Regions from separate parts of the Homo sapiens genome. Here all the other regions are linked to region 1. Evidence: promoter capture Hi-C in 16 types of primary human blood cells and fetal thymus (Javierre and others, 2016). All regions are on one chromosome and are shown on one strand. Each heading gives the region's core, a stretch centred on a gene start or on the middle of the fragment in contact. The rest is flanking DNA. Distances are from core to core; before and after follow the strand shown. Region 1 holds the start of YPEL2 (yippee like 2). Region 2 overlaps LOC105371847 (a long non-coding RNA gene). Region 3 overlaps LINC01476 (long intergenic non-protein coding RNA 1476). Region 4 overlaps LINC01476 (long intergenic non-protein coding RNA 1476).

What was found. Contacts are between HindIII fragments. The CHiCAGO score rates a contact against its expected background, and 5 or more counts as called.
Region 2: a contact is called between a fragment that was not itself captured here and the fragment with the promoter of YPEL2 in region 1, in 4 of 17 cell types (M1 macrophages, M2 macrophages, M0 macrophages and 1 more). The highest score is 8.2, in M1 macrophages.
Region 3: a fragment that was not itself captured here is called in contact with the fragment with the promoter of YPEL2 in region 1 in 6 of 17 cell types (M2 macrophages, M0 macrophages, M1 macrophages and 3 more); the score reaches 10.6 in M2 macrophages.
Region 4: a fragment that was not itself captured here is called in contact with the fragment with the promoter of YPEL2 in region 1 in 5 of 17 cell types (M1 macrophages, M2 macrophages, M0 macrophages and 2 more); the score reaches 9.4 in M1 macrophages.

What each region holds. Positions count from the first base shown.
Region 1 is chr17:59,330,302-59,333,153 of GRCh38, forward strand. It overlaps YPEL2 (yippee like 2), which reads left to right and starts at 1,354. Exons shown (of 5, transcript NM_001005404.4): 1 at 1,354-1,523. RefSeq lists a silencer at 1,120-1,639 and an enhancer at 1,850-2,411. The HindIII fragment of the contact is 8,765 bases long and covers 1-2,512 here.
Region 2 is chr17:59,530,642-59,533,493 of GRCh38, forward strand. LOC105371847 (a long non-coding RNA gene) reads left to right here. Exons shown (of 3, transcript XR_934889.2): 2 at 97-281. Among named protein-coding and RNA genes, the nearest start is that of LINC01476, 5.2 kb to the left of the region's middle. The HindIII fragment of the contact is 4,066 bases long and covers 1-2,852 here.
Region 3 is chr17:59,514,273-59,517,124 of GRCh38, forward strand. All of the region lies in intron 1 of LINC01476 (long intergenic non-protein coding RNA 1476), which reads right to left. Among named protein-coding and RNA genes, the nearest start is that of LINC01476, 11 kb to the right of the region's middle. The HindIII fragment of the contact is 5,725 bases long and covers 1-2,852 here.
Region 4 is chr17:59,492,601-59,495,452 of GRCh38, forward strand. All of the region lies in intron 2 of LINC01476 (long intergenic non-protein coding RNA 1476), which reads right to left. All of the region lies in intron 2 of LOC124904040 (a long non-coding RNA gene), which reads left to right. Among named protein-coding and RNA genes, the nearest start is that of LINC01476, 33 kb to the right of the region's middle. The HindIII fragment of the contact is 236 bases long and covers 1,279-1,514 here.

The sequences.
Region 1 (2,852 bases), core at 104-2,603:
CACAATACTGAGGTATTTGGGGTGTTTTGTTGTTTTTACTAACCTTGGTGACTGGATTCACATGCAATAGATATTAACTGAATACAATTTGGTTGACCAAGCATATTTTAAAAACAGCTGGGTGGAGATGCAGGTGAGCCAGCATTCTGGGTGTACGTGCAAACCAGTGTGTGGAAGGCGGAGAGTCAGCTGCACCTCCTGCAGCACCTCACATCCTGATGGCTGCACAGTAAAACACTAGTTTCCTTGGAGGAAGAGTTCCCAGAGGAACTGCGGAACCCCAGTGTCTTGAGCGAAAGGCAGGACCTGCTTTGTTCACCTTGTCCGTGCCAACATTCTTTATCAAACTGTCCTGTTTTCCTGCTGGGAAACTGCCCCACTCCACCCACCTGGTGCCTCCCTGGTTTCCTGACTGCCACGAGGTTATTTTTTAACCTGCTCTTCCTTGAAAAGCACCACCCCGGTGACCCAGAACGTGGACTCCTCCCCTCTGGTCACTCGGACCATCCCACTCTAATTACCGTCATCTGCCTCTGAAAGTCATGGAAAATTAGCAGCAATGGGGCGGTCTTCAATTCCACTAAGCCCCTTTCGTACTTTTAATTCGCCGAAATTACTAGCAGGGCAGAGAGAAGAGGGGAAATGCCTGGCTTCTGAGCAAGGCATGGGTGGGCTGGGTGCAACTAGCACTATCATTTTCTTTTAATTTTATTATTATTATACTTTAAGTTTTAGGGTACATGTGCACAATGTGCAGGTTTGTTACATATGTATACATGTGCCATGTTGGTGTGCTGCACCCATTAACTCGTCATTTAGCATTAGGTGTATCTCCTAATGCTATCCCTCCCCCCTCCCCCCTATCATTTTAAATTCAATTACCCGGGGCCTGAGGGCCACTTCTGGTAACTTAGGCTATGGCTTAGGGCGAGGTTTAAAACGTAAGAAAGGAATGACTATCTTGAGCCTCCAGGGAGATGCACTGCAAATCCCCCCGCCCCAAAATACAACCCAGGTTCTGGGAATCCCAGCCCTGCCCTGGGGACAAACCCCAAACTCAAATAAACGGCCTCCTCCTAGGCGCTGAGAGCCCACCCAGCTTTGGCACTCTGGGTCCCTGCCCTCCGGCAAGTTGCCGGGACGGGCGGGACCCTAACCAGCCGCTCTCCCCTAGCCCAGGCTGGGCCGGGCCGAGGGGTGGGGGAGTGGGCGGTCGGGGAAGCGGGGGGCGGAGTTCCGTCCTCTGATGATTGGCTCTGCGCGGATGGGCTGCGGCTGCGCCCGGCCAACCCGCGGCGTGTTGCTATGTGCTGAGCCGAGGGGATAGGTGCGGGGGCGCGTCCATCACGGGGTAGCCCCCGGCCCGGACCCGGAGGGATGCGGAGTGGCGGCCGCGGCGGTGGCGGAGACTGTGGCTTTAAGAGCGTGCCGGGAGCCCGAGCCCCAGCCGGGCCGCGCTTCGCCGCTGCGCACCCCAGCGGAGCCAAGCCCCACGCTGGCCGGACAGGGCCGCCTGTCGCCGGGTAAGTGCACCGGAGTGCGGCGCGGGCCGGGCGCGCGTGGGCGTGGGGCGCGCTGTCAGCTCGGGCTCTGGGTCCCCGGCCCCGGCCTCCGGACTCCCCCGGCCGGGCCTGCGCGGGGTTGGGGGTGCGGCGCCCTCGGTTCCGCGTGGGGTCCCCGTGGGCGCCGGGGACGGGGAGCGGCCGCCGGGCCACGTGACCGGTTTGTTTACAAACACTGCCGGGCCCGCGGCCGCTCGCGGAGGGAGCCCAAGGGCGCGGGACCCCCGGCCGGGGCGGGAGACGCGCGCCAGGGGCTGGGCGAGTCTGCGGGGCCAGGTTTGGGGCGGGGGTGCGGAGCTGGAATCGCCGCTTCCTCCTCCGCGTCGTCCCCATGGGTTCGGACTCCATGGGGTCCGGGTGGGGCTGGGGACGCCCTCCGTCCTCTCGTGACGCCGCGTTTCCCTCGGAGAGTCCTGGGGACACTTAGGTCCAGGGGCGCCGCCCTGGGGGCCTTCCACTGTGGGACTGGGCGCCCTCGAAATTTCTCGGAGCGCGTCGTCTGCCCCGACCCGGGTCGAGGTAACCGCAGCCGAGTTCCTCCCTGGCCGCGTCTCGGCGCCTCCCCGGTGTCCTTGCCAAGGGGGTGGGCGCGAGGTCCTGCCCGACGGAACGCGGGAGCCTCTGCCGCGAGCGCCTCCCCGGAGCTGGCGCTTAGGGGCGGCCCCGACCTTTCGCCACTTCCAGTTCACCCTGCTTGGCCGCCGACCTCCTCTGGTGTCTTTCCCGGAGTGGTGGGCTTTTCTCCGGTCTTGGGGGCGTGCGGGGGTGGGGGACACCTGTTCTTCTGGACTTCTTGTCCGGAAGATTGCTACCTCTGCCTTCAGTCTTAGCTGCGAGAGTTTAAAAAGCCAGGTGAGCGAGTGTCTTGTTTTCCTCCGCTTGGAGCGGAGCTGCACCCTCGCCCGCCCCCCAGTCCCGCCGCTGTGAAAGGCCCCAGAGAACTGCTCCGAAGCTTTGCTGGGGTTTTTGCTTTCTGGCCTCCTTGCTGATTTGCTGTCCTTGCAACTTGGGAGGCTCTTGAGTGAGTCCTTGCCTTTGGTGAATCTGAAGGCTAACGAGACAGCTGTCTTTTCCTCCCTGCCCTTCCTTCCTTGTTCTTCCTTGTTCCAAAGCATTGGGCAAGAAGGGTAGCGGTCAGCTTCCCTGTGCCTCACAGAGCATTAAAGATGCAAGAAGTTCAGTAAACCGCCTCACTGGCTCTGGGGTGGGACTTGATTTCACATGGTTATTGCTCCCCCGTGCTTTCCTGCCTCTGGGGGCCACAGGGCCTATGAATGGCTGAGTCTTGCC
Region 2 (2,852 bases), core at 113-2,612, 200 kb after region 1:
TTGTAACTTGTGTTGAAGCAATGTGGCTTAAGTCCAAAGCTGAAGTAGGGCTTTCACTAATTCTATTCACATCCAGGCTTTCCAATCTATCTTTAGAAAAAGTTGGCTCTGCCAGGAAGACACTCCTTAAGCCAGTGGTGCATAGGATCAAGATCTGTTTCATAAACCCTGGCACTGCAGAAGAGATAGCATAGCAAGCATATGTGAGAGAACAAACCCCCTTTTCAGTGCATGGCTCCTGGTTCCTGCTTCTAATGGCTTGTCCTGATGTCAGCAATCAGGTAAGTCACTCATCTTTCCCTGAAGGAAGAGCAGGCACGGATAGTGCAGTGTGGACCCCCCAGGGAGTCTATTTCTACAAGTCTCCTTTTTGTCTGTGGATATGGAAATATTAAGGAGAGTCACTCCCTCTGCCTCCCCATTTCTTGGGTTCTGATCCCCTTTTCTCTGGTAATAGCACCTCATCCTAGTTCTTCCCATACTACTCTTAGTACTGTACCTCGAAGGGTTGCTTTGAAGAGAAAACCCATCAGAATGGACCAATCAGAACCCATCTCTGAACTTTCTGCATCAATTTCAACTTTCTGTGTTGGCCTCCTCAGGTAATACCATCTTCAAAGTCACTTTCCTTTCCTAAGGGCCTCTGTAAAGCTGTTTCCCTGTGAAATGTGTTTCCTTATCATCTCACTTGAGTAGCTTTTTTTGTCTCCCTTTAGACCTCAACTTAAATATGACTTCTGCAACTCAAATTTACCCCTTCAGAGAGGTCTTCCCAGTCCGTTCTATTTAAACTAGGACTTCCATTGTGATTCTCCAACTTAACCCTTTGTTTGTTTCACAACTGAAAGGAACAATTACTATGTTCTAAGTATGGACAGACATAAGGAAATGAAACGTATTTGCTGCTAAAAATTGAGATGAATAAGTACATTGAACCATCTTGTAAAACTACATTTTAAAATATTCAATAGGAGAAAAATTGTTCCAAACGTGGACTGGGATGGAATATTTTTTGGAATATAATTCACAAGCTCCTTCTGGGGAGAGAATTGCATTCCTGATAAAATACTTAAGGAATTTTTCTGAACTTTAAATTACGACTTGTTCTGGGAAAACCAATCACCTGGCCATTTAACTAAGTAGAGTGACCTTAAACAAACATTCTTTTGTATCTAATCTAAAAGTGATTAACCTTTCTGTTTTCCTATAAAATATTTCTGCCAAGAGTGAATCTTTGGATTGGTCTGCTAGAGGCCTTTTCCTTGCAGTCAGATTGTAGTAAAACATTGCAATTTGCTTATAACTAAATTATCTGAAAAGTTTTGCTTTTTTATTTTTTAATTTTTATTTATTTTTGAGACAAAGTTTCATTCTTTTTTTAATTTTTTTATATATATTTTTTGAGACGGAGTCTCGCTCTGTCGTCCAGGCTGGAGTGCAATGGCACTGTCTCGCTCACTGCAAGCTCCGCCTCCTGGGTGGTTGATGCCATTCTCCTGCCTCAGCCTCTCAAGTAGCTGGGACTACAGGTGCCCGCCACCACGCCCAGCTAATTTTTGTATTTTTAGTGGAGATGGGGTTTCACCGCGTTAGCCAGGATGGTCTCGGTCTCCTGGCCTCGTGATCCGCCCGCCTCGGCCTCCCAAAGTGCTGGGATTACAGGCGTGAGCCACCGCGCCTGGCCGAGAGACAGAGTTTCATTCTTGTTGCTCAGGCTGGAGTGCAATGGCACGGTTTCAGCTCACTGCAACCTCTGCCTCCTGAGTTCACGCGATTCTCCTGCCTCAGCCTCCTAAGTAGCTGGGACTACAGGCGCCCACCGCCATGCCTGGCTGATTTTTGTATTTTTAGTAGAAACGGGATTTCACCAAGTTGGTCAGGCTCCTGACCTCCGGTGTGCCACCCGCCTCAGCCTCCCAAAGTGCTGCGATTACAGGTGTAAGCCACCACACCCGGCCAGTTTTGCTTTTTAAAAAATAACAACAACAACATACATTATAGTATCTTTAGACACTATATTTATTCATAACTTCTTTTGGGTCTTGTCCTCACACTAGACTATATAGTTTTAAACTGTAAGCTACAATAGGACAGCAAGCAGGTTTGTATTACTTGGTGTTTATCCCTAGGAACAACTTAGCACAGTACCTGGCAAACAGTAGGAGCTGCAGTGATATTTGTTAAGCTGATGAGTAATAAGTGAATGAATGAAATTTAAATGTGTGCACATTTGCAGACTAGATGAATTTAAACACAAATGAGTGTGCATCTCCTCTTTGTCTGTGACAAATAAACATGAAAGAATGGAGTCCTTCCTTTCCCCTCTCTGATCTGTAATGTGAACGTACCTGAGCCTCCTCGGCACTCTGTGATTCCCTAGGAAGGCCCCTCTCAAATGTCATCTCATCCAAACAATGCAAATCCCACTACAAAAATACTGGAGAGTAATGTTTTTACTGAAGGTTTCAAGGGAAACAGAAGAGGAAGTTATGAAATACACTACTACCAGCACCTTTTAAATTTTTACCTGAGGCTGGGTGCGATGGCTAATGCCTGTAACACCAGCTCTTTGGGAGGCCGAGGCAGGCGGATCACCTGAGGTCGGGAGTTGGAGACCAGCCTGACCAATATGGAGAAACCCCGTCTCTACTAAAAATACAAAAAATTAGCTGTGCGTGGTGGCACATGCCTGTAATCCCAGCTACTCGGGAGACTGAGGCAGGAGAATCGCTTGAACCTTGGAGGTGGAGATTGCAGTGAGCCGAGGTTGCGCCACTGCACTCCAGCCTGGGCAACAAGAGTGAAACTCCATCTCAAAACAAACACACAAACAAACAATTCTTACCTGAAGC
Region 3 (2,852 bases), core at 246-2,745, 180 kb after region 1:
TATGCTGAGTGAGGAGGTTAAAAGGGGGTGGGATAACCAGTTAGAGTTGAGAGCTATTCTGCATTAGCACTTAAGCAGCCTGGGCATGCGGCCAAATCTCTTGGGTTAATGTTTCTTCTCCTTTGTTGTCCAGGATTAGGCAACAATGTGGCCTTCTGTCATTTTGCATTTCTTTGTCTGTTAAAAAGAGTCAATAACCTGCATTCTCTTTGGACCCAGAATATTTGGCCATCATCTTTCCCCTAGCACAGAAACAATGACATTCTGGTATTGATGTATTGGTACCGGACATTGTGGGGAGATGTCAAGATGGTGATTAAAGTTCTGATCCTTTGGAAATCAGTGTTTATGGGAAGGTACTAAACATTACAAGAAGCTAAGAATGCGAAGGACAAATATTTAGAGAAAATCTCCAAGAACAAACTCTTCCAGATAGCGACAAAGTTTGTATTCGTGTGCCAACAATTCTTGTCTCTCTTGATAATACTATTTTTTGCCATGAAATGTGGGTTATTACAGTGATGGGGAAGAGAGGCTGAATCAGAAAGGATGTTGACATTTGGCAACAGAAGAAAGGGTTTGTATTTTTATTTATTTATTTTTTGAGACAGGGTCTCATTCTTTCACTGAGGCTGGAGTGCAGTGATGCCATCTTAGCTCACTGCAACCTCTGCCTCCTGGGCTGAAGCAATCCTCCCACCTCAGCCTCCCGAGTAGCTGGGACTACAGGCATGCACTACCTTCCTCTGCTGATTTTTGTCTTTTTAGTGGAGACGGGGTTTCACCATGTTGCCCAGGCTGGTCTTGAACTCCTGGGCTCAAGCGATCAGCACACCTCAGCCTCCCAAAGTGCTGGATTACAGGTGTGAGTCACCGTGCTCTGCCAGAAAGGGTTTTTTAAATCTTGCAGTGTACCCTTCAGGACGGCTGAAAGCATGACTTTGTGGGCTCCTTTTTTGTACTTTGGCTTCACAAGGGGAATGACATCTCCCAAGTGACTCTGTCTGACTGGTCTTTGTCATTATTATTACCTCATTTACTTAGTACTTCCTAATATTAGACATCGTACTAAGTGTTTTACGTGTATTATTCCATTTACTTTTCACAAAAAAAAACTCATGAAGTAGGAACTATTAACGTTCTCTTCATACAAAGAAAACTGAGTCATAATCCCACCACTGGTGAGCTTTTGGTGATGTGTAGCATCTGGATACTGGAAAAGAAGTCCCTAGTTGAGGTGCTAAGAGAGAGGAACAAACATATTTAGAGCAACTTGCTGGGTGCAGTGACTCAAGCCTGTAATCCCAGTACTTTGGGAGGCTGAGGTGGGAGGATTGCTTGAGCCCAGGATTTTGAGACCAGCTTGGGCAACATCATGAAACCCCATCTCTACTAAAAATACAAAAATTAGCCAGGAGTGGTGGCACATTGCTGTAGTCCCAGCTACTTAGGAGGCTGAGGCATGAAAATCATTTGAATTCAAGAGGCAGAGGTTGCAGTGAGCTGAGATTATGACATTGTACTCCAGCTTGTGTGACAGAGTGAGACTCTGTCTCAAAATAAAATAAAATAAAAATGAATAAATGAAACATACACATTTGAATTTTCATTCATTCATATTTTGCTTCCTTCCATGAGTTGGGCATTGTATTGGGACTGGGAATACAATAATGAACAGATGCAGGTCACAGGCTATTGAGAGTCCAGTAATTCAAATAGTTGTAATGCAATATGAGAAGTGTCATGATACAGAGCAATGTTTTCAAAACTTTTCTAATGATGGGAATCCCCAGGGCCGCTTGTGAAATATGGAACTTAACTTACCAGACTTTTCTCATGTAAATTCTGAGGTTTTAGAATCTGGAATCTGGTTTTTTTTTTGTTGTTGTTGTTTTTTTGAGGCAGAGTTTCACTCCGTCATCAGGCTGGAGTGCAATGGCGCAATCTCGGCTCACTCCAACCTCTGCCTCCCGGGTTCAAGCGATTCACCTGCCTCAGCCTCCTGAGTAGCTGGGACTACAGGTGCGCGCCACCACACCCAGCTAGGTTTTTTTTTTTTTGTATTTTTAGTAGAGACAGGGTTTCACCATGTTGGCCAGAATGGTCTCCATCTCTTGACCTTGTGATCTGCCCGCGTCGGCCTCCCAAAGTGCTGGGATTACAGGCATGAGCCGCTGCACCTGGCCTAGAATCTGTTTTTTAACTAACACTAAAGTTGAGTCGTATATTCAGGAAAGTCTGGGAAGCATAGATGTAAAGGTGTGTGCCCAAATGCTCGAGAAACCTAAGGTGGGGTGTCTACTCAGCCTGGGGAGTTAAGGATGGCCTCACAGAGAAGGTGACAGCTGAAGAGGAGGTGCAGGAACAGAAGTTATTTCACACCCCAGCAGGGGACCCTACCCTTGTGTTCTAAGGTGTGAAAGTATGAGCAAACATTGACCTATTTAGGACACTGAGAGCAATCAGACACTGTGGAAGTCAAAATATACAAAGAGAAATAGCAAGGGATAAGGCTGGAGAGAAAGTGAGGGCCAGGCTATGAAAATCCTGGAATGCCATGTGAAGAAATATAGATTGATGGAGATGCTTTTTAGACTGCCTTGGTTCTTATTTCTATTTTATATATTATCATATCATATTTTATATATTTATACATTAGTATATAATATTTATATATTGTATACTATAATATATTGTTATATTTATATTTACTGAAATTTTTTTTTTTTGAGACAGGGTCTCTCTGTCACCTAGGCCGGAGTGCAGTGGTGCAGCCTCAACCTCCTGGTATCAAGAGATCCTCCCACCTCAGCCTCCTGAGTAGCTAGGACCACAGGTGTGCACCACCATGC
Region 4 (2,852 bases), core at 147-2,646, 160 kb after region 1:
GGGATTTTCCTTTTCAAATATCTGGATATTTGTGTGCATCAGATATACTAAACTCTCTTGAACAAAGTTTAACTCCTCAAGTCTCCTTGTTTTTAGGGTAGGCAGGAATCCATGCCCTTTTGTCTGTATTCTTTATCACACCATCACCTTTCCTTACTTCCACAGCCTTTGTTACATTCCCAGTTACAGATGATATTTAATCACCTCAAGAATCTAGTCCAGGCCGGGTGTGGTGGCTCACGCCTGTAATCCCAGCACTTTGGGAGGCCAAGGCAGGAGGATCACATGAGGCCAGGAGTTTGAGACCAGCCTGGCCAATATGGTGAAACCCCATCTCTATTTAAAAATAATAATAATAAAAAAAGCTGGTCATGGTGGCACACGCCTGTAGTCCCAGCTACTCGGGAGGCTGAGGTAGGAGAATCTCTTGAACCCGGGAGGCAGAGGTTGCAGTGAGCCAAGATCACCCCACTGCACTCCAGCCTGAGCAATAGAGCGAGATTCTGTCTCAAAAAAAAAAAAAAAGAGAGAAAAAAAAAGAATGTAGTCTAAAACTATCATAAACTGGATCCTGATGGGAAGTGTACAATTATATAACATCCTATCCATGGTTAGTGAATAATTTTCAGCTTCTATCTTGGGGAACGAGACCTACGTCCCACTTCCCACCGACTTGGGCTTTTGGCTTGGGGGCTAGCCTTCTTTTCACTTCTTGTCACTCTGTAATCACTGACCACAATATGCATATGGTTCTGATGTAAACTAAAATCTTTATCCAAAGGCTCTATCCACCTGGCAACTTTTGAACCCATATGAAATAAGCAGGGTAGTGACTCTTCTTTTGAGACCTCATTTGCTCATTTATTCAAGTACATGGAGCCCCAGGCAGTCCACTCAGTGCAAGGGATAAAACAGATGCATGGGCCGGGCGCGGTGGCTCACGCCTGTAATCCCAGCACTTTGGGAGGCCGAGGCGGGTGGATCATGAGGTCAGGAGATCGAGACCATCCTGGCTAACAAGGTGAAACCCCGTCTCTACTAAAAATACAAAAAATTAGCCGGGCGCGGTGGTGGGCGCCTGTAGTCCCAGCTACTGGGGAGGCTGAGGCAGGAGAATGGCGTGAACCCGGGAAGCGGAGCTTGCAGTGAGCCGAGATTGCGCCACTGCAGTCTGCAGTCCGGCCTGGGCGACAGAGCGAGACTCCGTCTCAAAAAAAAAAAAAAAAAAAAAAAAAAAAAACAGATGCATGATGTACTCCTGGCCCCCTAGTCTGACAAAGCTTTTATGTGTATCTCTGGTTCTTAAAAAGAACAAATTGTCCACTTACAAACTGTATACTTACAACTAACCTGGATGTACAGGGCGTGTGCTCCATGCAGCTTGCAAATATCTGTCTTGAATTATTTTCTGCAGACTAACAGCCACCATAGCTTCTGGTTGCTCCTCTCTCCTCCTTGTCCTCCTTCCCACCTCTAGAGCGCTTGCTGCTGTTGCCATGACAACCAGAAGGAAAAGCTTTGGAACTTTATCTCTTACTATGGGCCCATGTCTCCCCATGAGGACAATATTGTCTGTCACTCCAACTGGACTCTGGGGCTTTCTCTTTAAATATACCGTTAAGTCATGTTAAAATTGGAACTCTAAGGGCAAGATTATGAGGGTATTAAGTCAGGGACCTAGGAATTCTCAAATCTTGTTTTTGACTAGCAATCCTTTTCTTCAAAGAAAATATGTGCACTTATGACAAAGCAGGGTATAGGGATGCTTTTTACTAAGTGGGGCTTCACATCTAAGCCCCATATAGAGTTTTAACAGGTCCATACAGGCCTGGTGGAGGTCTCTTTTGGCATAAGCTGGGTTGACCCGAGATGCCTACTTGACCACTAAGAGATTAGAAAAAAGATCCTCCAGCTCAAACTTGTCATCTGGGCTCCAGGTTCAGGCAGCGATCTACCGGCTTGATATTTCCCCTGGATGTCTCGTGGACATCTTCATCTTAAAAATCTTTCCATCCTTATTCTTCCCCTAGTCTTCCACCTCTCCATAAACAGCTTCACCCTGCAGACCGAGGCCCAAGCCAGCAACCTGGGAGGCTTCCTTGACTCTTCCCTTCCCCTTGCCTCCCCGCATGCCCAATCCTTACCAAGTCCTGTGGCTCTATCTCCAAAATAAAACTCGCAGACGTCTGCTTTTCTCCATCACCACTCCTATCACTTCAGACTAAAACGTAGTCATCTTCCGTCTGGATTATTTTAATCGCCCTCGGACTGTTCTCCCTGATTCTACTTGTTTCTCCCCAAGTCCTTCTTCATAGAGCAGCAAGTGCGATCTTTTAGAAAGATAAACCAGATTGCATGACTCGGCTCTTTAAAACTCTTCTTGGCTTCCCACTACACTTGGAATAAAAACCGTCATCTTCACCCTGGCCTACAGGGCCTGCCCTACATTCTCTGAGCTCCTGTCCAGCCTCGTCTCTCCCACTCTCCACCTGGCCCTTCCTCCAGTCGCATTTGTCTTCCTTCCACTCTCCATGTGGCTTGCAAATATGTCTTTAATTTCCTCCAAAGTCAAACAGTTGCCATACATCCTGGTTTTCCCACAAAGCTCTTTTCCCACCTCCAAGCCTTTACACTTTCAGCTCCTTCTGCCTGGAACACATGTTCCCTGCCCTTTGCCTGATCTTTGCACGGTGGCTGTTTCCTTTTCAACCTTGAGGTCTCAGTTAACTGTCACCTCCTCAGAGAGGCCTTCCCTGACCACCCTATCCAAAACTGCTCTCCCCCATGAGTGACTCTATCAGTGCACCCTGTTTATTTCCTACGTAAGATTTTCCAAAACATGTACCTATTTT